4 separate regions of the Homo sapiens genome follow, and regions 2, 3 and 4 are each linked to region 1. The links are contacts of gene promoters, found by promoter capture Hi-C in human tissues and cell types (Jung and others, 2019). All regions are on one chromosome and are shown on one strand. The core of a region is centred on a gene start or on the middle of the fragment in contact, and the rest is flanking DNA. Distances in the headings are between cores, read along the strand shown. Region 1 holds the start of IGFBP5 (insulin like growth factor binding protein 5). Region 2 has its middle 97 kb from the start of TESHL. Region 3 has its middle 160 kb from the start of DIRC3-AS1. Region 4 has its middle 160 kb from the start of TESHL.

What was found. The method cuts DNA at HindIII sites, captures the fragments that hold promoters and counts their contacts. A contact is called where the count stands out against the background at its distance.
Region 2: a fragment that was not itself captured here is called in contact with the fragment with the promoter of IGFBP5 in region 1 in 2 of the 25 tissues and cell types used here (IMR-90 fibroblasts and bladder).
Region 3: a fragment that was not itself captured here is called in contact with the fragment with the promoter of IGFBP5 in region 1 in 1 of the 25 tissues and cell types used here (H1 embryonic stem cells).
Region 4: a contact is called between a fragment that was not itself captured here and the fragment with the promoter of IGFBP5 in region 1, in 5 of the 25 tissues and cell types used here (bladder, heart left ventricle, heart right ventricle and 2 more).

Annotation. Positions count from the first base shown.
Region 1 is chr2:216,692,291-216,698,186 of GRCh38, forward strand. It overlaps IGFBP5 (insulin like growth factor binding protein 5), which reads right to left and starts at 3,259. Exons shown (of 4, transcript NM_000599.4): 1 at 2,149-3,259. The coding sequence starts at 2,485. It overlaps IGFBP-AS1 (IGFBP5 antisense RNA 1), which reads left to right and starts at 2,156. Exons shown (of 6, transcript NR_187138.1): 1 at 2,156-2,471. The HindIII fragment of the contact is 12,405 bases long and covers 1-4,988 here.
Region 2 is chr2:216,964,624-216,969,946 of GRCh38, forward strand. No RefSeq gene overlaps it. Among named protein-coding and RNA genes, the nearest start is that of TESHL, 97 kb to the left of the region's middle. The HindIII fragment of the contact is 8,095 bases long and covers 1-5,323 here.
Region 3 is chr2:217,116,380-217,122,116 of GRCh38, forward strand. No RefSeq gene overlaps it. Among named protein-coding and RNA genes, the nearest start is that of DIRC3-AS1, 160 kb to the right of the region's middle. The HindIII fragment of the contact is 6,169 bases long and covers 1-5,665 here.
Region 4 is chr2:217,023,650-217,029,517 of GRCh38, forward strand. No RefSeq gene overlaps it. Among named protein-coding and RNA genes, the nearest start is that of TESHL, 160 kb to the left of the region's middle. The HindIII fragment of the contact is 7,497 bases long and covers 1-5,868 here.

The DNA of each region.
Region 1 (5,896 bases), core at 2,009-4,508:
ACTCAGAAGGTGGGGGTTGAGCAAGGGGCGGCAGGGAATTCTACAGGGGATCTTGCTTGGGACTGAAGTGTCGTGTGTGTGTGTGTGTGTGTGTGTGTGTGTGTGTGTGTGTGATGCGCCCTCCGTGCTCGCCTAGCAATTGCGCGCGCGTGCGCTCTGCGTGTACACCCTTCACACTAGCCACATCACACTACACGCTTGGTAAATAATAAGTGGAGCCAGGATGCGGCTGAGTGACACCTTACGTTCTTTCGGTGTGACTGGATTGTTACCCAGGGCGGTGGCTCCCAAGCCGGGAAATCAATTAATGTTTTCCTTCTCCGCTAGGCTTTTCCAAATCCACATCCCCCAAGATGAAGGCGGGCAGGACCGCCTTTGAAAAGTGGATCTTAATAAAAATAATCTCACAAGCCGGTCTCTGGGGTTCCCAGAGCCTGCACATCCTCCCCTTTTCCTCTTTTTGCAGGCTGCAACCTGCAAAAAGATCGACTTTTTGCAGGTTTGGAGATCGACTACCTCTTGCAAAGCTAGAGGGGCTGGCCCCTGCGCCACTCAAACCCTGCAGGGTTTGCGGGGACTGAGGCTGAACACAGGAAGCTCTCCGGCCTCCTGGCAAGCGCGGACGCACTCCTCTCCTGCACTATAGTGACTGAAATTTGCACTTCAGAAAACTCATGTTAGGGTGCTCGTGAGTAACGGAAAGGGACAGGGAGGGAGAAGGGGATTGCCCCCGTAACTAAACTGTCTCCGTAACTAAACTACGCCAAATAAACATTGTTTAGCCAAGTTTTAACCCCTTTTGGAGAGAATCAATAGCCAGTTTGACGTCTTAGAACCCAGACTTTTATGTAGTTTATTTAACTTTTTTTTTTTTTAACTAAAGATCAGGTAACTCTTTCCAAAAAGAAACTCAGTCTAAGGGGGTAGAACTGTTCTGATTGAACAAGTAGCTGTGTCAATCATTTCAACCCTAGACTCCTGGCGCCGAGAATTTGGGGGCGGCGCAACCCGGGGGCGGGGCAAGCGGAGGCGAGGCTCCCAGTGCGTGGCTTTTCTGTCTCCGCCCCCTGAATTTTGCATTCTGCGTTTCCAGGGCCCCTCATGCACTTAATCCACACCCACTTGTGATCTGGTTTAAGAGATTGGGGAGGGCGGGGTGGGGGGATTGCGGAGGGAGGAATTGCGGGGCGGGGGTGGAGGTGGTGGTGGTGCCAGGAATCTGCATAGGCGAGGAAGTTGAAAGCTCTGAATCTCACATCCCCTTTTGCCTCCCAGCCCTATGTCCACCTTTCATCCTAGGTAAAATCTGAATTGGAGAGGGGGAAAAGGAATTAGATTCAGAAACGAACACCAGGCACAGAATACCAAACCCTTCCTTTCTACTCTTCCCCACCCCCACCCCGCACCCCCGCACTCCTAAAGTATTTTTTTCCCTTCCTGGGATAAAATAAAAGTCATTTTGCAGTTAAATATGTTTTACCATCTACCACAGGCAATCATCTTCAATAAAAAGCAATGGTTATGCACATGGGAGGGGCTTCAGGGCTCCCACCCGAAAGGCATTAGCTACCAAGGATGTGGGGTGTTTGTGGTGTGTGTGTAGGGGTGGAGGGATAGAAACGTCTGGAGGCACGGGGGTGGAGGGGCCAAGAGGGACAAAGGTGGAATTAGCTCAGAAGATAGGTAATGCCTCTCTCTCCAGGCCGCAATTAAAATAATATTTTAACAAAAGAGATTTTTTTTCCAAGTTCAGAAAAAAACCTATGCGGGGCGCGAGGGGGGTGGAGGAGGGAGTTGATAATGTAACATACACTCTTTCAGACTGTAGATAGGGTACCAGGGGATTTGGACCTTGTGACCGAATAAGAGCTCAGAATCAGTATTCGGACAGAGTAGGGGGAGGGGGCGGGCAACGTGTGGGTAGGAGGAAGGAGAAAGAGCGAAAGCTGGGATAGACTCGGCTAGACAGTTCCCCCGGGTAGCAGGATCCTCCAGGGCTCCAATTCCGGGGTGCAAGGACCCTCCCCGACTACTCCCGAGCTGCACCCCAGCTCGAAGCCACTTGCTGCGCAAAGCGCGCGGGCCCAGCCGGTCTCGTGTCCCCCGCCCGTGCGCCGCGTAACTGACTGGCACACTGAGCGCGCTCACCGATCTTGACTTGCTCGCGGTAGCTCTTTTCGTTGAGGCAAACCCCGCGGCCGTGCAGCAGGGCGTGCAGCGGCTTCTCCTCGTCCTGCCGGGGGAGGCAGCGCAGCCCCTGGGCGCAGCGCTCGGTGTAGACGCCGCACGACTGCCCCTCGGCCAGGGCGCAGGTCATGCAGCAGCCGCAGCCCGGCTCCTTGACCAGCTCGCAGCCCAGGGGGCTGGGGGGGCACATGGAGAGGGCTTTCTCGTCGCAGGGCTCGCAGTGCACGAAGGAGCCCAGGCTCTGGGCCGGCCCCGCATAGGCGGCCAGCAGCAGGAGGACCGCGGTGAGCAACACCATCTTCTCTTAGTCGCCCCCTTTACCTCGGGGTGGGGCAGGAGAGCGAGAGTGCAGGGATAAAGGGGCCAAGAGGGCCCCCGGAGATTTTTTTGTTTTTGTTTTTGTTTTAAAATTTCTGGCAGGTAGAGCAGGTGCCCTCCCCCAGACACTTGCAAAAATGTAGAGAGAGGTGGAGGGCTGGGGTGCCTGCGAGCAGGTCCCAGTTGCAAGAATTAAAGCCTTGCAACAGGTTGGGGGAAGCAGGGCAGCGCCAGGTGCACGCAGTGAGCGGAGGCCGGAGAAACCCTCAAGCCTGAGCGGGTCAGAATTATAGGGGAAAAAAAGCCACAAAATTGTTCACCCCCAAGCAACCACCGAAATAATGAGATCGGATGCAGTGGAGATGGCGTTGGGGGTGGGAGAGAAAAATGGATTTATCTTTAAAATTTTTGCTTAAAATCTAAAATACACCCCGCTTTCTAACCCTCAGCTGCCAGCGGTGCGCGGCGCCGCAGAACAGGTAAGAGGCGTTGGCTGCAGCCGAGAGGGTGGGAGAAAATGTTGAAATCAAGAAATTAAAAAACAAAAACAAAAACAAAAAAACCCCAAACCCTAACACCTCTTTTCTCCCACTTTGCCACCTCCTCTTCGAAATTCGCAGGTTCTACGCGAAGTCCGGAGAAGGGTGAAAACGGAGGAGGGGTAATGAAAAGGAGCAAAAAAGGGAAAAAGCCCACACTGCTTTGCAGCTCTTTCCTAGCTCTTTTCCCCTGCAGAAGTTTCCAAAGAGACTACGGGGCTCCGGGAGAGCAGGCGCTTTTAAATAGCCGGCCCCTGGCTGCCAGCCAGTTTGTAGCTGCAATTTGAGCTTCCCAACACCCAACTCAGGCAAGGATGCCAAGGAGCTTTGCAGTACAAACTCACACGGGGTGGGGGTGGGGAGAGGCCTTCTAGACACAAGGGGGCTCCCCTTCGCTCCCTGAACAGCGCCCTCCTCCCCTCTGAACAGCGCCCTCCTCCCCCCGGAATGTAAGAAAGGGGCAAGGGGGACAGGCTGGGGCTACCGAGAATGGGGAGGAGGTGGAGGGGCCAGTGGAAGACAGAGTTCTTCGGAGCAGGGTGAACACAATGAGGAGAGTAACTTCGTCTCCCCTTCCCTCCTATCCTTTAAGTAGTCAAGGCACAGGCTGAAGGGAGACGTATTTTCTTATTAGCCAACTGGATATACCGTGCCCAAGAAATCTTCCTAAGCTTCTGCAATTGACTGTATGCTGGTGTCTGTTTCCATGTGGGGTGTGTGTGTGTGTGTGTTTGGGGGACAGGTAGTGTAGAATGGCCAGTGATGTCTGGTGAGCTAAATTTAAAAAAGAAGAAAAAATTGAATTTCTCCCCTAAAAGTCTGGAGAAGAGGATTTAATCAGGGGGTTTCAGTACTCATGATGAAGAGGTGACCAGTTGCCTTCAGCTGCGTTGGCCAGGGAGGTTCTCTCTCTCTTTCTCTCTCTCTGTGTGTGTGTGTGTATGTGTGTGTGTTGTGTATCTGCAGGAATGGACATTCATACAACAGCATTATTGAGAGCAGTGAGTTGCAGAGATGGACACTTTGGAGGAAATGCTAAGTCTGAAAACCTTGCATGGTGGCCTAAAGTGTCCTTGTGTGTGGGGTTCTTAGAGGGAAGAAAGGTGGATTGGAGTGACACTTCCCTCTCTGTCACTTTGCAGAGGTATTTCTATTGGGCAGGGCCACATCCCTGGAGGGAGTGGGTGGCAGAGTAGCTGGAGGAGACCTTGTGATAGGTTGACAGGTTAGTTGGTGCTTATAGGCACATCCCAGGAATATGAGCTGACAGGGCCACAGGACCTGCTTGGAAGAGGTCCTGACCAGGAACCGAATCATGCCACTAGAACCTCTTTAATAAAATGAAAGAAAACTAAGGCCTTGAAATAGGAAGGTGGTGGTTTTAGCTTTTTCTGAAATTGACCTGAGTGAGCCATGAGCCTCACAGGCAAGTCAGAGAGAAATGACCAATGTCACTGCCCCTGCTGGGTGGACTTGGTGTGGGCTGTTACACCTTTTACATTGTGCTTCCTCCCTTGAGAAGTATTCTAACTTTCCTTTGGAGAAGGGGCTGCATTTCATGAAGTTTGCCACTAGACTGCACCCTTATCTATGATAAGAATTCTTTCTGGAGGACTGCTTTCAAGAAAATATTTTTTCTTGCTCGTTCAGTTCAGGAGCATCTCACTTTATGCCGTTAACACCCCCAGATCCTGATCTCTCTTCTCACTTATCTATTTGCCGAAAGGCACATTTTAAAACAAGGTTAACGTCTAAAGTTATGTCTTTGCCTGTATTGCCAAAGGGGGTTTAGCCACGTGGTGGCTGGGAGAGGGAGGAGCATTGTGTGTAATGATTAAAACAAAAAATAGCAGCAAGGCTCATCTTAATTTCTTCTTTTCTCAGTCTGAGGGCTTGGTAAGGTAGGAACAAATCAATATTCAAAACTTTGGTGGAAATATTTTAGAAGTGAGGGAAATCATGTGTTATTTTGTCATTTGTGTCAAGTTCAGACTACAAGAGTGGCAGCAGAATGTGTGCAGTATGTTCTCTTCCCTGCTCCTATTTCTTTCTGCACACCCTTAGCAGCTCAGCCTGCCTCAGGCACACTGGTAGCTTTTAAGATGATTGGGGGAAATTGTGGTACTCCTTCCAAAGAAACATGAGTTGCCTCGTTCCAGTCACCCTGTATTCTGAGAGAGATGGCCTCTAGTGACACCTCTTTTTGTGTAGCCGACTTCCAATGGCTGGATAATACAATATGTGAAGACAGGTAAAAGGAGGGGGGATCATTCACAGAAAAGATAAAAAGGGTAGAGAGAAGGGGGGAGGAGAATGTGGTGGGAGCCGGACCCTGGGGCAGAGCAGTACAGGGGCCATGGAGAGAGGTTACTCTGCAAGACTGTAAATGTTAAGCAGCTATTCTTTTTTTTTTTTTTTAATACTTTAAGTTCTAGGGTACATGTGCACAATGTGCAGGTTTGTTACATATGTATACATGTGCTGTGTTGGTGTGCTAAGCAGCCATTCTTTATCTCCACTTAGAAATGGGCTTAGGTTATAAGGGATTCAGACACTGGAGCTGTTGTCCAAGAGACCCTGGGATAGGCTTCCCGAGAGGGCATGAGAGAAAGAAGAATTCTCAGTAGCCTGGGATTGTCTATAGTAATTTCATCCAAAGATGGAGGACTGGCCAGATGGGTGTTGTTTCTGAGTCCATAATTAACATATGACAATGGAGTGGGAAGGTGTTGGTGTTGTTACTGCAGGATACGGGATTATGGAGGATGCCTATGAGCCTTACTTGATTCCATTTTCCCCTTCCCTCCATTCTGGAGGTCTAGATCTGTTCACAATCACCTTTAGAAAATTGC
Region 2 (5,323 bases), core at 1,532-4,031, 270 kb after region 1:
AAAGAGCTCTTACAAATCAGTAACAGAGGAACATACATAACTCATGAAGGATTTTAAATTGCCAATCTATGTATACATATAGAAAAAAGGTCGATCTGAAAGATAACAAAAGAAATTCAAATTAAAATAACAGGGCAGGTGCAGTGGCTCATGCCTATAATCCCAGGCTTTGGGATGCTGAGGTGGGAGGATTGCTTGAGGCCAGTAGTTTGAGATCAGTCTGGGCAACATAGTGAGACCCTGTCTCTACAAAAAATTAAAAAATTAGCCAGTCATAGCGGCACACACCTGAAGTCCCAGCTACTCTGGGGGCTGAGGTGGGAGGATCGCTTGATCCCAGGAGTTTGCAGTTACAGTGAGCTGTGATGGCACCACTGTACTCCAGCCTGAGTGACTGAGCAAGACCCTGACTCAAAAAGAAAATAACAATGATATATTATTTTTGTGTGTCTAAAAAATGACAAAAATATTAAAAACCATTAATACCACAATTTGGCAAGAATGTAGAAAAACAGACTCTTCAAGCACTATAAATTGTTTTGAAATGTACAGTATTTTGGAGGGGTAATTAGGCAACACAAATCAAGAAACAAGAGTGTCCCTACTTTTCAAGCCAGTTTTTCTACTTTCAGAAATCTTTCTCAGATAGTAATTAATGTTTTATCACAACACTGCTTATGTTGAGAAAAACTTTGCATTTATTCTGATTGTTTTCATAAATAATGGTACATTAATCATTAGAATTCTATGTAGCCATTTAAACTCACGTTGCAGGACAGTGCTTTTTAAGCATTTCTAAGCCTTTCTCAGTGGAGTTCCCTGGATGGAATTTTGGGTTCTAGGTCTCTCATTCCTCATTGGGTGGTTTTTTGTTTTACATACTTGGCTTCCTTGTAAGATTTAACTCAAGCCAAGGATTCATAGTTAAAAAAAATCATTTAAAAGCCACACCTGGAGAACATTTAGTGAATGACCAGGTATCTTCTGTTTAACCTTCCAGACCTGCTCTCTGCATTTCTCCACTCTGCTCTCTGCCCTGGGCAGCTGACCTTTATGGGTCACATCAGTGGATCCTTGTGCCCTTCTTGCAGCTGGGTTCAATCAGTGGGAATCTCCAGCTACAATCAGAGACAGAGAGAGGAAGGAGAGAGAGAGAGAAGAGGGTTGATTCTTCTGGGTCCCTCCTCTGTGAGATCATCAGGAGCTGATGTCCTTTGAACAAAAAGTCCTTTCAAGAAGCCATTTCTACGTGATTCTTCCCGGGTTTCCATGCCACTTTTTCCTCTTGCTCTTTTAGGCTTGGAGGTAACAGCAGCTTCAGTTACGATGCTTTTTCTTTTCGTTTTTTTGAGATGAAGTTTCACTCTTTTGCTGAGGCTGGAGTGAAGTGGCACTATCTCGGCTCAGTGCGACCTCCCTCCCCTGGGTTCAAGCAATTCTCCTGCTTCAGCCTCCCGAGTAGCTAGGATTATAGGCACCTGCCACCATGCCCCACTAATTTTTGTATTTTTAGTAGAGATGGGGTTTCACTGTGTTGGCCAGGCTGATCTCGAACCGCTGACCTCAGGTGATCCACCCACTTGGCCTCCCAAAGTTTTGGGATTACAGGCATGGGCCACTGCGCCCAGCTGATACTTTTTCTTGTGTTCCTCTACACTCAGGGTTGCCGTAGAACTTATTGTCATCCTTAAGAGTCAAAGAGGATGATAAAATAATTATTTTTAATTTGTTTGTTGACCAAAAATTAGTTTTGTTATATTGTGGAGCTTATAAAATAGTTAAAATAGTTCTATTCAAAACTGCTCTCAAAAGTAAAGCTCTTTCTGTTTTTTTTTTTTTTTTTTTTTTTTTTTTTTTTTTTTTTTTTTTTTTTTTTAGACAGAGTCTCACTCTGTCGCCCAGGCTGGAGTGCAATGGTGTGATCTTGGCTCCCTGCAGCCTCCGCCTCCCGGGTTCAAGCAATTCTCCTGCCTCAGCCTCCAGAGTAGCTGGGATTACAGGCATGCACCACCATGCCCAGCTAATTTTTTGTATTTTTAGTAGAGACGGGGTTTCACCATGTTGGTCAGGCTGGTCTTGAACCCCTGACCTCAGGTGATCCACCCACCTCAGCCTTCCAAAGTGCTGGGATTACAGGTGTGAGCTACCATGGCCCGGGCAAAAGTAAAACTCTTTCTAAAAAGCTAAAATAATATATGTGTATATACTCATTAAATCAAAATTATAAAAAGCTTCTTTAAATTTATTATTTATTAAAATTACATGAACAAAGTAATAATTATTCTTGATGCATAGTCATGTATTTTAGTTTCTCTAATGCTTTGTCACTGCAGTTTTTTCTGAAAATTTTTTTTACAATGTTCTCTGAAATATTCCTCTATCTCAATCTCAGGAAGACTAAATACTGCAGATTGAGGAGTGAGTAGAGGCAAGATTATATATATGTGTGTGTATACATACATACACACGTATGTTATATATGTGTGCATGTGTGTGTACACATACATGTACATATATGTACACATATATCTACATATATTTGCAGTTGTAAATGTAGGCTAAGTCTTTTTAAAAGTAAAGAGAGCCAATAGAAATCATTTTTGGAATGCAAAATTGTTCTGGGTATTCACCAATGTAAGGAAAGATATTTTCAGGATTCTTAGAAGTGGAGCTTTGAGAGATTGAAGGGGCCAGGTGTAGGCAGCATGGAGTGCAGGAGAGAGCCCAATCGAATAGAGGGCCCAAGATGAAAGAAATGACATTCCCAGGTTTAGAAAAAGAGGGCTCTGTCCCAGCTTAAAGAATCACCCAAAGATAGAAACAAGTCAGTAGCCCTTAGTGACTAGTACCTATGGAAAGTTTTAGCACCTAATAATCTGTGTGAATGTTAACTACAGTAGTGGAATTTGAGAGTATACTCCTCCTACCTGGGTATGGGCAGAGGAAGAGAGTGGGGAATGAAAAGTCAGTGAAAGAGTGGATGGAGGAGGCTATGGAACCAGGGTTCTGTCCAGCACAGACAGGAATTATCCCTCTTTCTCCCTGTGTGGCAGGGACATCACAGAGAGGACTTGAGGACCTCTTCCAGGCACAGGAGGTAGTGACAAAGCCCTCCTTTCATCAAAGCTCTGTGTTTCTATGGCAGGATTGGGGAGGATGGGAAGGAGGACTCCATTAGGAACAAAGAACATAGTTGCAAACTGTAGCTCCCCATCTTCCATCCTGGAGATGCTTATTAGGGGCCAGAGAAATGCAAGGGGGGTTGGAGAAGCAAGCCACCTAGCCAAAGAGAGGGCAATGGAAAGAATCTAGAAATAGAGTTGGAAGACCCAGTTCCAGCAGGAGGAGCATGAAGGAGACAGATGAGGTGGAGAGTGAAAACCCCTTGGGGGGTTGGCTGGACAGAGGCCAGCAGGGTGGTGGAAAATGGCTGTTGGTGCCAGGAGAAGAATGAACTTGAGTGAGAGGCCATGGGAGGGTGGGGGAAGAGGGCATGGGGCAGGCCCTGCAGGAATCAGAGACATAGTGAGAGCTGATGGTGATTCCAGCTGTCCAACATCCATTCTGCTGATTTGTGCTGGCAGGATGAAGGTCTGGATGGGAGTTGAGAGCAGTAGGCGGTGGAGGAAGCAGGTGCTGCAGGGGGCTGCTGAGGGTCAGGGTGTTGTCTCTTGGGACCAGCATGAGTCACAGCACTGGTTCTCCCACCATGTGCTCCCCAAAAGTGGGATTCTTTTTTTATTCTTATAGTTTGCAGAGTGCTGATTCTAGACCAACTTGTGTTCTGAGAAAGGCTGAGACACCCTAAAAGAGCATGTCAGCTTGGGTCCTGCGGCAGGGCCTCCTTAAGGAGTGCTCCATCTTTGTCCTGGCCCTGGAAAGCTCTAGGCTGGGGCAGGAGAGGGTCAGCGGCTCTGCAGCCAGGGTATGGGGTGGGAGACCTGGGGGCTCCCTTGATACCTGGAGGTCTTTCTGGTCTCCTGAACTTGCTCCTTCTTGCCCATTTTCCATGGTGGTTGCTTGGATGGGAAGGTGTCAGAGAAGGTTCTCTGCAGAACAAGGCAGATCTAGGGAAGCAGGCAGGGGAAACTGGGTCAAGCTATGAGCTGTGTTCTCAAAGCTCTTTCTTCCTCTTCTCCAGCATTTCTAGGAGATGAAAAAGAGGCAAGTAAGGAGGAGAGAGTGCCTTTAAAGTAAAGATGAAGAGGGACTTACTGCCTCTCATCTCCAATCCCTGTAAGCCAGTTGTAAGAGCTATAGTCCTTCATTAACTGAATATCTTTTTTAGGTTCCATTTCACACACCTATTCTAGAGACTGTAACCCACCCCATACTGTCACATCCCAGACTCTAACCACCCATTTTGTCTTATCTAAGTTTGTTGTTCACTTGACATTAGTCCATTTCTTCTCTTGTTCTCTACTCTTAGTAGAGGACAAGCTCTCTTTATGGAGAGAACTCAGTACAAAAATGGGCCTAGTGTTAGAGACAGGACACAAAGCCCCTGGGCTCCCCAGAGGCATAGGGCTGATGGGGCTCAGGGAACGACAAGTGACAGAAGGTCTTGAGAAGAAAGACGAATGTCAGGGCCAGAAAGACCAGTAAAGAGATGGAGTCTTTGAAGTTCTTCCCTTCCTCCTCCCTCCCTCCTTCCTTTCTCTCTCTCTCTCCTTCCTTCCGTCCTACCTTCCCCTTCCCTTCCCTTCCCTTCCTTTCCTTTCCTTTCCCTTCCCTTCCCTTTTCTTTCATTTTCTTTTCTCTTCTCTTTCATAGACTTATTAAGCTATAATTCATATAGCATATAATCTCCCATTTAAAGTGTACAATTCAGTGTTTTTTAAATCATATTCACAGAGTTGTGTATCATTACAAGTTTAGAACATTCTCACTGCCCCAGAAAGGAGCTCTACATGCCTTAGCCAACCCCACTGCAACACTCCCATCGCCCCCTTGCCCCAGCCCTAGTTAACAACCAATATGCTTTCTCTGTGAGATTTTTTAATCCAACAGCCAACTCAACCCAGGATGCTATGTATGCATGGTATGCTATAGAGCCTAGAAACTGCTTTCCTACATTCATTTTAGTTTTGTTCTTTTTATCAACTCATTCAAGTAAGCAGGGCAGATGGTTGGTTGTGTCTTGCATTTTTCAGGTTGGTAAACTGGGGCATCTCTAAATGACAACATTTCAGCTTCAGTAGAGGGATGGAGTGATGTGGCCTTTCACGTCTATGAAAGAAAAGTAAAGAAGAGTTTGTGAGTAACATTTCCTTCAGCACTCCTCAAAATTTAGAAAAATGAAGGCAAGAAACAAGATGAAGAA
Region 3 (5,737 bases), core at 1,331-3,830, 420 kb after region 1:
CCCCCAGTGTCTGTTTCTTTGTTTATTCCATCATCAACACATCCAGATGGCCTGTACTCTCCAGGCCACAAGCCATCCTGCTTACCTCCCTCCCTAACATTCTTTGCTGGACTCCTTAAGGCATTTGAGTTAAAATCTCTAGCTCAGATCCTTCCATTGGCAGAAGGACAACCAGGTGAGGCAGTGAGCTCCCTGTGATTGGGATTAGACAGCCATCTTCCCAGGACCCAACAGAGGCTATTCTTATTCCTAATTGGACACAAAACTGGATTGGGAAGCTTCTAAATCCCCCAGTCTCTGAACTTGTAATAATCATTCAGAGACTGCCTGGGGTCAAATCCTGGTTCTATGACTTATTAGCTGAGTGACCTCATGCAAGTTACATAGCTTCTTTGAGACACCTTCTTCATCTGTAAAGTAGGGCTATTAATCATTCCCACCATAGGAGTTACTGGGGGATTTGATGGGATATTACGTGTGAAGCACTCAGAACAGCTCTCAGTGTTCTGGCATACAATAATTTCTCAGTGAATGTTAATTCTATCTACCCTTGTCTTTCCTTTCCTAATTTGCTGAGCAGGGGCTAGCCCATCAGCAGTACAGGTTTTATGGGGAATTTCAGGGTTCATAAAACACAGACTGGCCCGAGTGTCTTGCTGAGGATGGACATTCCAGAAGGTTTTTTCCTCCCAGCCTATGCGCCATTCACTCTTCATCACATTCACCTGCAGTCTTCTGTGGTGCTTCTCCCGGGAGGGTGCCAGCATCAGCCCCATTTTCTGGGAGATTTCCACAAGCAGCAGGGGAAGAAGGGTTTGTATTGGTTTCCAAGGGCTGCCCCAGATTTAGACTGGGAGGTCTAAATAAAACAGAAATGTATTCATTCACAGTTCTGAACTCTGGGAATTCAAAATCAAGGTGTTGTCAGGGCCATGCTCTCTCTCAACACTCTAGGGGAGGATCCTGCCTTGTCTCTTCCTAGGGTTGTGGGAAATCCTTGGCATTCCTTGGCTGAATAGTGTTAGTTACTATTTTTTCTTTGATTCTCACCTCTTTGTGGACAACAGTGAAAATTAGAATCTTCCAAGTTTGTTTAGGTTGGAATAATGCTCTGTGTTATCCCAATACCAATTGTGCTTTTGCTCAACAGAAAGGGGGCTAAAAGAATTGTAGGTTTTATGTTCTAGGGAACTGATGATGGAATTGGCATGAAGTGGCTGCAAAACTGACCTCTTGCTTTGGGGATGGCTGCCTTATTACCAAGTGTGGTGGATTCTCCCAAATTACTTTTCAGTGTAATCTGTTCCTTTGCTCACTGCATGGCGTCACCTGACCACTGAGATTGGCCACATGACTTCCTGTCTTTGTATCTTCATGTTTTTTCCTCTTGCCTCTCCCAGTTAGGTATTCATCTTACTCTAATGCTGCATTGTAGTCACTGCAAGCTGAAGGCCATGGCAGCTTCTCTTTAATCTACCAGGAGTGTGGTGTTCACTGGATGCAACAGTGGCCAGATGTTCAAAATCTGATGAGAAAAGGTATGAACTAACTACCACTGTCCAACTGGCCAAGTGAGAATGGCTTTCAATTCCCCCAAGGCTTTCCGTTCAGGGATTCTGACAGAGAGCTCACCACCAATAGGATGCAGGAAGGCTGATAGACAAATGGCCGTCAGCCACAGAAGTGGAGAGGGACAGGAGAAACACCGCATTGATTCTGGCAGTCACTGTGTCTTCCTAGCCTAAGCTTCAGTTTCCTCTCCTTTTATCCTGCTGGATATTTCAGCAGGACATTTGGAGTTCCAGTCCACTACATTCTTCTGCTTCTTTTTTCTATGATGTTTTTTCTTAACCTTGTACTCCTTTTTAGAATGTGTATTTTTTTTTCAACAGTAAGAATTATCAGGCTTCGTCCACACATATGAGTGGTATTTATGTGTGACTGTTTCCCTTAAACTAACTCTTTTCTCTTTTCTCATTAACATTCTGCCTGCCAGTTTAGGATGCTTTCCTTTCGACAGTCTCGTCGAGCTGGGTGGCTTGTCCTTAGCTTTAACCTGGTGGCATCAGCTGAAGATTGTCCTTGTCTGATCTTTCTGAATATTTTCGGTCTAACCAATCATATTAGGTACGGAGTTATAATCCCTCATCCCCATCGTCAACCCTCTGCTTTGAAGGGAAAGCCCTTGGCATTAATCCTTCAATTATAAGAAAAAAGTTCCTCCCTCTCCACCATTTACTCAGTAGGACTGAGGGGACCTGTGGGCTACATGGCCCAGGAAGCATCTGTGCTATGAAGTCCGGGCTAGGACAGAGTGAGTCTCTTCACCTCCATGTCAACCAGCTCTCTTGGCGCATAGCTTGTCCAGAGGGTGACAGCTGCTGGTACTGCTGTCATTGCCAGCAGCCTGGGCCCTGCTGCCACCACGGCACATAAGGATGCTCCATGTCAGCCTGCCAGCATCTTCTCATTGGGCTGGTTCAAAGTGATGAGTAAGCTACAATGTGACAACCTTTTCCTCTTTTTACTACCCTTTTATCACACTGCTGCTTCCTCTACTTTTTGCCAATGAACTATTTAGGCTGAATTAAGGCTCATTTTTATTCTTCCTTCATCCATGACAAGTTCTGCTATATCTGGATTGAAAATGCAGTACATTACTGGTTAGAGAAGATAGGACTGAATGTATTTTATGATCAATTGCACTCTGGGGAACCATCAGAAATATTTCTCTGTCCTTCCGCCTGGCAGATTAGGAGTTATGATACAGTGCCCCCTAAAAGAGTGTGCATGATATTACCCAGGATGCAGGCGAAAGACAGAAACGTGGCAGGCACAGAGGTCCAGAGAGGAGAAACTGGTTGAATTACAAAACTTGTAAGACCTGTAAAACCTCTACGTTGTCTGTAATCACTCTCACAGCTCTTTAATTCCTCAAATCTTTAAGGAAGGTCATTCTAACTCACGTAGGTTGATGGCCTCTTGGTGTTTCTGACACCTTGGATTCATCTCAGCTGGGATGAGATTCACAGTCAAGTGCTGATTGACTCTTTGGGAAGCTGTGTGACAATTCTACTGGTGGTACTTCCTGGTTTTCTTTTAGTACCATTTGTGCATGTGGAAATTGGGAGACCAGGTACTTCTGCCACAACTCCACACCCCTCACCACAGCCAGCCTGGCTTCTGTGCTTTCCAGCTGGGGTGAATATACTGCCTCAACTTGTTCTTCAGTAGAAAGCCTGTGCTCACCAGAGTCCAAAGACATGTGCCTGCATACATCCAGGGGCAGATGCACAGAAACAAGCATAATTGCCCATTGGTGGTCTCAGCTGGGTCTCACCCTCACTTTTGAATCAACAGAGTTATTATATAATTCCATGTCTCTATTTCTACTTCACTGCCTGGAAACCAACTGATACCTACGCTGATTGGATTCCCTTGCTTATGGAGAGGGGAGTCAGGCAGAAGGGATTTCAGAATTCTCACCCAACTCTATGAGCAATTCCCAGTCATCCTAGCCCTCCAGCTGCAGGTCTCTTGGCTTCCTCTAATTACCCGAAGCATTGTGTCTACTCTCTTGATTATCTTATATTATACTCAATTTTGAGGTCTGCCAGAGAAAATTATGGAGTAAGGGGGCTTGATGAAGTCTGGATATGAAAAATTTTAAAATTAGAAAGCTGCAATTTGGGGGGTTGTAAGCAGAGTTTGGATTCTAGAATGGATAATGGAATTTGGTTGTGGGTCCATAATGCCTTTCCTCATTTGTTTTAGCAGAAACACATTTTGTAAGACTTAATTTGTCAGACATTGGGAGAGTACCTACCTCCTATTCCAGAATAGCTACCTCCTAAGCCAGCAAAGTGTCACAATGCTGATGCTTCCAACCAATGTTAAAAATTTTTGTTCAGTAATTTAAGTTGGATATATTGTTAAATAGTAGCTTTCTGGATATTGGACATTAGGAAATTCATTTGTCCCAACTTCAATATCCAGAAAGTTGCTGTTCATTTTGGGTGAAATATAGATCCTTCTTTCTAAGCAGTTTCTCACAGGAGGCTAAACAACTGCAGTAGTGATACGAACTACTAGTAGGGAGATGATGAGATGAACATCTTCATTTCATGCTGGAGAAAATACCATGATAGGAAGGTGGTAAGAGAGGCCTTCAACCTGGCCCAGAGCTGGTATTATTTAAGACCGAATAAGCCAGAGTTTGACAAATGTACTGTGGACCATTGTTATCGTGCTCAGATCTGAGCTTAGGGAGCGGAAGAGGCACAGTTGTGGGAGAGCCATGGAGTTTCCTTTGAAGGAAATCAACATTTGTACAGAATGACTTATCATATTTGCTTTACTTGTGCCACTAGTTCCTTGGGAAAACACTTCCTGTAGCCCATTTAGGGAGACTGAGGTTCCTCAAGGAAAGTTAGACATTCAAGAATCAGGACCATGGCAGCCACGGTGAAGACAGGCCAGGCTCAAATCAATGGGTAAGTGATTTTATGAGCTGAAGTCCATTTGTGCCATAACCTCACTCCATGTTGCTAATATTTATAATATATATTATATATATGCTAATATATGTAATATATTTTATATATATGCTAATATATGTAATATATATTATATATATGCTAATATATATATGCTAATATATAATATATATTATATATAAATATATAATATATATTTATATAAATATATAATATATTATATATAAATATATAATATAAATATATATAATATATACTATATTATATATTATGTATAACATATAATACATATTTGTTATATATAATATATATATTATATGTTATATATTATATATTATATATAATATAACAATATATTTTATATATTATATGTTATATATTATATATTATATATAATATAACATAATATATAATATATATTATATTATATATTACATATATTAGCAATATTATATATAAAATATATATAATATATATAAAATATATATAAAAATATAAAATATATATCAAAATATAAACTATATAATATATAAAAATATATTATATATAATATATAAAAATATAAACTATATAATATATAAAAATATATTATATATAATATATAAAAATATATTATATATTATATATAAAAATATATTATATATAATATATAAAAATATATATAAAATATAAAAAATATATATAAAATATAAAAAATATATAAAATAATATAAAATATATAATATATAATAATATAATATATAATATATATAATTATATATTATATATATTAGCAACATGGAGTGTATATATAATATATATACACACACACACATATAACATCACCCCCAAGCCTGTGACAGACGAGCAATATGTATGTACAAATTCCACATTGAAATGTAAGTGGGCTGTTCTGGCTAAGATTTGCTTAACACAGAAGTTTTAAGCATGTACCAGAAAGCAAATCAAAGCTGTTCTCTAGCAAGCCCTTCATGTGCATGACAGGACTCCAGTGTAAAGCTGTGAGAACATAACTGCTACAGGCGCTATTCTTTTGTTGAAAACTATCCCATCACCATTCATGCTGTTTTTTTGGAGAAGGAGAGAATTGATTAGTGAGGCCATATTCTACTTAGTGTCTTCTGGAAATATCTGATTATCCCTACCTAAGGAATGGAATAAAAATGTAACACACCCAAATTTTAGAAAGATGTGCATTTCCCACTACCTGTTGTCTCACTGTAGGTACCTATCATGTCCTG
Region 4 (5,868 bases), core at 2,411-4,910, 330 kb after region 1:
GCCTGGCTCAAGCAGAGAGTCAATTTGCCCTTCCTTCATCTTTTTGTTCTATTCAGGCCCTGGAGGGATTAAATGATACCCAGCCTTCACTGGGGAAGGTAATCTTCATTACTCAGTCTGCTGATTCAAATGTTAATCTCTTGCAGAAACACCCTCACAGTCACACCCAGAAATAATGTTTTAACAGCTACCTGGTCATCCCTTACCTCAGTCAAGTCGATACATAATTAACCATCATAGAGCCAGAACATGCAATAACTTGGAAATAATTCAGTCATTGTGCAAGGAGTTACCTAGACTCTGTTTTAGGCTGGAAGGTGGGAGTGAGATATAAAATGCATACAGTGATCAGGAGGCTACGAGTACTAGAAAGAACTAGAAAGCTTTAACTCTTTCATGGCAATAATAAAATTCAAGATTGTTACTAGGAATAAACTGTACCAGAGTTATGTGAGACCCAAACACAGTCAGAATTAGACTTTGGAGGTATTTGTTGAATTGAACTGAACCCTATAGCTCCCCATTGTTCATAGAGTGCCTACAACCTGTGGCCACTGCACTAGGCATTCAGGATTCAGAATGTTGAGAGGACTATGAGAAGTAACGTGGCTAAGCATGGAACCAGAGAGAGTTGGCCCAACCCTTTCATTTACAAATGAGGAAACTGATGCCCACAGTGAGACTGGCCTGGCCCAACATTACACAACCAGTTTATGGCAAAGCAAAGAGAAACACCTGTTTGGGTAGTGAGGGTTGCCTTTTAGGTGCCCTGACCCCATTTTTACCACCAAGGATTGAGGAGGAATTGCAGTACAAAGAGACAAGAGATAGAAAAAATTTGAGCGTTGCTGCTGCTATAGACCCTCCATCCAGCAAAGCCTTGAGAGAGATATTCTACCACCGGGCTGGGACTGTAAACTAGTTCAACCATTGTGGAAGACAGTGTGGCGATTCCTCAAGGATCTAGAACTAGAAATACCGTTTGACCCAGCCATCCCATTACTGGGTATATACCCAAGGGATTATAAATCATGCTGCTATAAAGACACATGCACACGTATGTTTATTGTGGCACTATTCATAATAGTAGACTTGGAACCAATCCAAATGTCCATCAGTGATAGACTGGATTAAGAAAATGTGGCACATATACACCATGGAATACCATGCAGCCATAAAAAAGGATGAGTTCATGTCCTTTGTAGGGACATGGATGAAGCTGGAAACCATCATTCTGAGCAAACTATTGCAAGGACAGAAAACCAAAGACCACATGTTCCCACTCATAGGTGGGAATTGAACATTGAGAACACCTGGACACAGGGTGGGAAACATCACACACTGGGGTCTGTCGTGGGGTGGGGGAAGGAGTGAGGGATAGCATTAGGAGATACACCTAATGTAAATGACGAGTTAATGGGTGCAGCACACCAACATGGCACATGTGTACATATGTAACAAACCTGCACATGTACCCTAGAACTTAAAGTATAATAATAAAAATAATATATATTCTACCACCGGGCTGCTAACTTGGCAAGGGCTGAAAGAATCCAACCGAGAAGAAAATAGGCCATCATTGTGCCCCTCTCCACATCAAAATGCAATTACTGAGCTTTTCTTAAGAGCTCAGCACTGTGCTAGATGTTGTCCATGTTGATCTTCACAACTGCAGAGGCTGAATTACTATATGTTTATGTGATAACTAAATATTCTATTATGCTTGCATTTGTCTTTGGTGAATATTATTGAAGTCGTTTACTGCTACGGTTTCCTCTGCAGTTTTTCTACTAGTCCATCACACTCTTCTTTTTGGCCCTATTTTTACCCATACTCAGTTAGTTTCTTGTGGCAGGCTACGTGTGTGTGAGGTTCTGTGTGTATGTGTGTTTGCGCAAACATGGTTTTGTGTCAGTATACCTCATAGATATGAAAACAGTTTCTGTTCAAACAGTACCCACACTTAGACTCCATATTAATCTTGGCTCAATTCTGTGAAAACTGGCCCTGAAGTCTGTGACCCCCCTTACTCACCTCTTTACCTCATCTCAACCAAAAGAATCCACTTCAAGAACACCTTCCGCACAAGCTCTTCAAATATCTCAAGTTCTCTTTTCCAGTATGGTGTTGCAGGGTGTAGTGAAAAATGCATGAGTTTGGAGTCAAACAGATTCCCGTTCCATTTCTGGTTGTATCCTATATTACCACTTGGAGTTGTTGGCAGTCTTAGGTGAACACAGGAGGCAATTCTTTTTTTACAGTGACTGACAAAGAGGTGAGCAAGAAATGTGAGTCTCTTATTTATTCCCAGCCCCTCTATCTTAACTTGTTGAAGGTAAAGACCAGTGGATCTGAATTTAGATTATTTACCCTCCCATGTGTGGGGAACACACACACGTGCACACACACACCAGGCTGGAATTTCTTCAGTTTGTTCCTCCGGGTCTACTCTATACTTCATGGAAGCTGATCTTATGACTTACATCAATGGTCTCCCTTGTCCTCTGGCTTCTATTAGATTTGGCAAATGGGGAGCCCTGGCAGATCACTGAAGGGAGGACAGAAGTTGTAGTATTTATTCCTGTGATATTCTCTCCTGGTGTGTCACCTTGGGCTGTCTGCGTCCCTTGACAGAAGGTCACCCTCTTGTCAGGCATCACTTTTCTCACAGTTCTCTCTGTCTCTGGGTTCCAACACCACTCCCTCTTCTTGACCCTTAACGCCTAGGGGTGATTATAGCTCCAGCTGTTATTAGCACGGAGGACTGCACGATCCCTTATGATTTCACTACACCCAGTAAATAGAACCTTTATTAAGCTTTTCCCAAATAACCCAATTTCAGTGCACTGTCTGTTTTCTGCTTGGACTTTCACTCACGTATGTGCATGCACACACACACACACATACACACACGCATGCACACTCATACCCACGTACTCTCTATATACGTGTACATTGAGTGCTATGGAATTTTTAGGGTTCTTTGAGGACAACTTCCTGGAAGAAGAATAATGGGAGATGTGCTCAGAGGCTGGTGAGCGTTTAATTGACCTGGTTGTGAGCACAATGGGAATGCTTTTCTGAACCTTCCATTTGCCTCCAATTTAGAATAACTGCTTAGTCAGCAACATGTCTCCAATTAACATGACAGATTTTTTGGACCACAGATCTCTTTGGGAATCTTATGTAAGCTGTGAAACTTCTCCCTTAAAAAACCTACATATTTAATTCTGTCTGTAATTTTAGGACTTCACATATCCCCAAAGACCATTCATGATCCACCAGGGTTAAAGACTTGTTTTAAGTAAAGAAAATATTCACAGCCTCTGGAGTAGTAGACATCTCCAGAGAAAGTCTGGCATTCTTTGGTAACTCATGGCATTTATTACATTAGCTTTGGATGGAACAACCCCCAACCCCCAAGTCTGAGCATGTGGTTTGATGCTGCTTCCTTTCCATTTTCACTCTGCTCTCTTGGATTCTATGTAGCAAAAAGGTACCTTTTCTAGGGTCACATGTCCACTTCTCAAACTCTGTCTTGCACTGGGGATTTGAGGGTGGACTATCAGAGCATAATGGAAGAGGCAGGAAAGGATAGCACTAATTAGAGAACTTGATAGGCCTTTTGCTACTGATAAAGATTCTGTCCTGTATCATCCATGAGGTTTGGATTTGCACTTCTAAAAAATAGCTGTGTGTTTTTGACAATAGCCACTCCCTTTTTGCTCCTTTCTGGTCTCTTTCCTAAATGACTTTCCAGGATAGTATAAAATAAGCAATCTATTTAGAGGAACAAAACAAAGAACTACACCATTAGCATTAAAATATTTCTAGGGTAGTTTAGGTAACATAGAACTTTGTAGCTCAGCAGTCTTGGAATCACTAGACTCTAAGCCCCATGTAGTCAGAGACTGCCTGCTTTTATAATTCATCCCCAACAGCAGGCTATTGCATAACACATTGTTACCACCCACACCATTTTGTTGAGTAAATGAATGCATGCATGAACGAATCAGAGGATTCTGTTGTCTAAATAAACTTTGGAGGTGACTTAGTCTTCTCTTCCCTCTGATGCTTAGATCTTCTTTATCTCTCAGTTCAACATATATTGCTCAAATGGTTCCTAGGTGCAAGGGATCTGGAAGTTATTAAAATGAAATAGATTTTGGACCATGACCTTGACAAATTATGATCTACTAGGAGAGATAATATGGAAATCAGTATAATACTACAGAGACAGTAAAAAGGAAAAAGAAATGTTTGCACTTAATAATTATTCCACCATTGTTCCAAAAGTTTCAATTATAGGGAACTAAGTTCCACTACTAATAAAAGTCAATACGCATTGTATGCTTACTGCATGCTAAATATATTATGTCATTATAATATTTATGTTCAGGTGTATACTATGATTGTATGTATTTTACGACAAGGAAATTGAGGCTCAGAGAGGTTAAAGAACTTGCTCAAGGTGACAGAGCCAGTAGGTGGTAGAACAAAGACTCCTACATTCTGACCTAGTCCATATGTAAGCAGATTTATTGCTAGAAATATCTTGATGTTGCATTGAAATCTGCCTCTCCTTATTTTCCATTTGGAACTAATTCCACTCTCCCGAGCCAGAAAAACCAAGCCTCTCATTACTTGAAAAACCAATTAATGAGTTAAATTACATCAAGTTAGTTTAACAGTCAGCAATTCCCTGTTGTAATCATAGTTAGGCTGCTACCATTTTTGTCCCAATCATTGGCCCACACTGAATTTTGTGTCTAATTCATTGCTTTCTGTCTCCTTAATTTCATCCTCTGCCCCCAGAGATACTATGCTGAGTATTGATGCTGCAGCAACATATTAATTTTTATGTTTTCTGACTCATTTACCCCAAAGCCATAGTGCATCAAATGCTTTTGGGTTTGTGACCATTTTATCTTTGGTTTCAGTCACTGTTTATCTGGTCGCATCTTTGTTCATTTAACAAATATTTGCTATGAAGTGCAAGTTTAGTGGGTAGCAAACACTGCTCTGGCAAGGGGTATATGAAGAAAGACATCATTCCTTCCTCCAAGACTAGTCTTGTTTGGAAGCTGGACAAACAAACAGTTACAATACAATTAAAATAGGGTTAATTAAGAAATGTGCCAACTGTCAAGGGTAATCAAAGGGGACCCTTTCAGTCTGTCCCAAGGATGCTAGGTAAGTCTTCACAGAGAAACTGGTATTAGGGCTAAGATCTAGCGGAGGACTAGGGGCTTTCTAGACAGACAATGGAGGCAGGACACTTCTGAGAGAGGAATGAAGCCTTGAGGTGTGAGACAGCATGTGGTAGAGCATGGAGGGTTCAGGCACTTGGAGGAGTTGGGTATGGGGAGAAATACAGAGCACCTGTGAGAGCCTGGGGCATGGCTGGAGAGGTAGGCAGGGGCCGGCTTGCAAAGGGCTTTACCTGTCATGCTGAAGGGCTAACTGCTGTTCTGGAGAATTTGCAGAGCCACTGAAGGTTTTGAAGCATCCTAATGTTAGGATTCACTTCAAGTTTTAGAAAGTTTAGTCTTTTGGCTCAAGGGTGGGGAGGGAATAAAAGAAGCGAGAGTGAAGGCATGGGACCAGTTTAGAGACTAGTGAAGTCTGATGAAAAGGAGATGAGAGAAGCCTAAAGTGGACAAGCAGCTGGACACGGCGGCTCACACCTGTAATCCCAGCAATTTGGGAGGACGAGGTGGGCGGATCACCTGTAGTCGGGAGTTCAAGGCCAGCCTGGCCAACATGGTGAAACCCCGTCTCTACTAAAAATACAAAATTAGCTGGGTGTGGTGGCAGACACGTGTAATCCCACCTACTCAGGAGGCTGAAGCGGGAGAATCGCTTGAA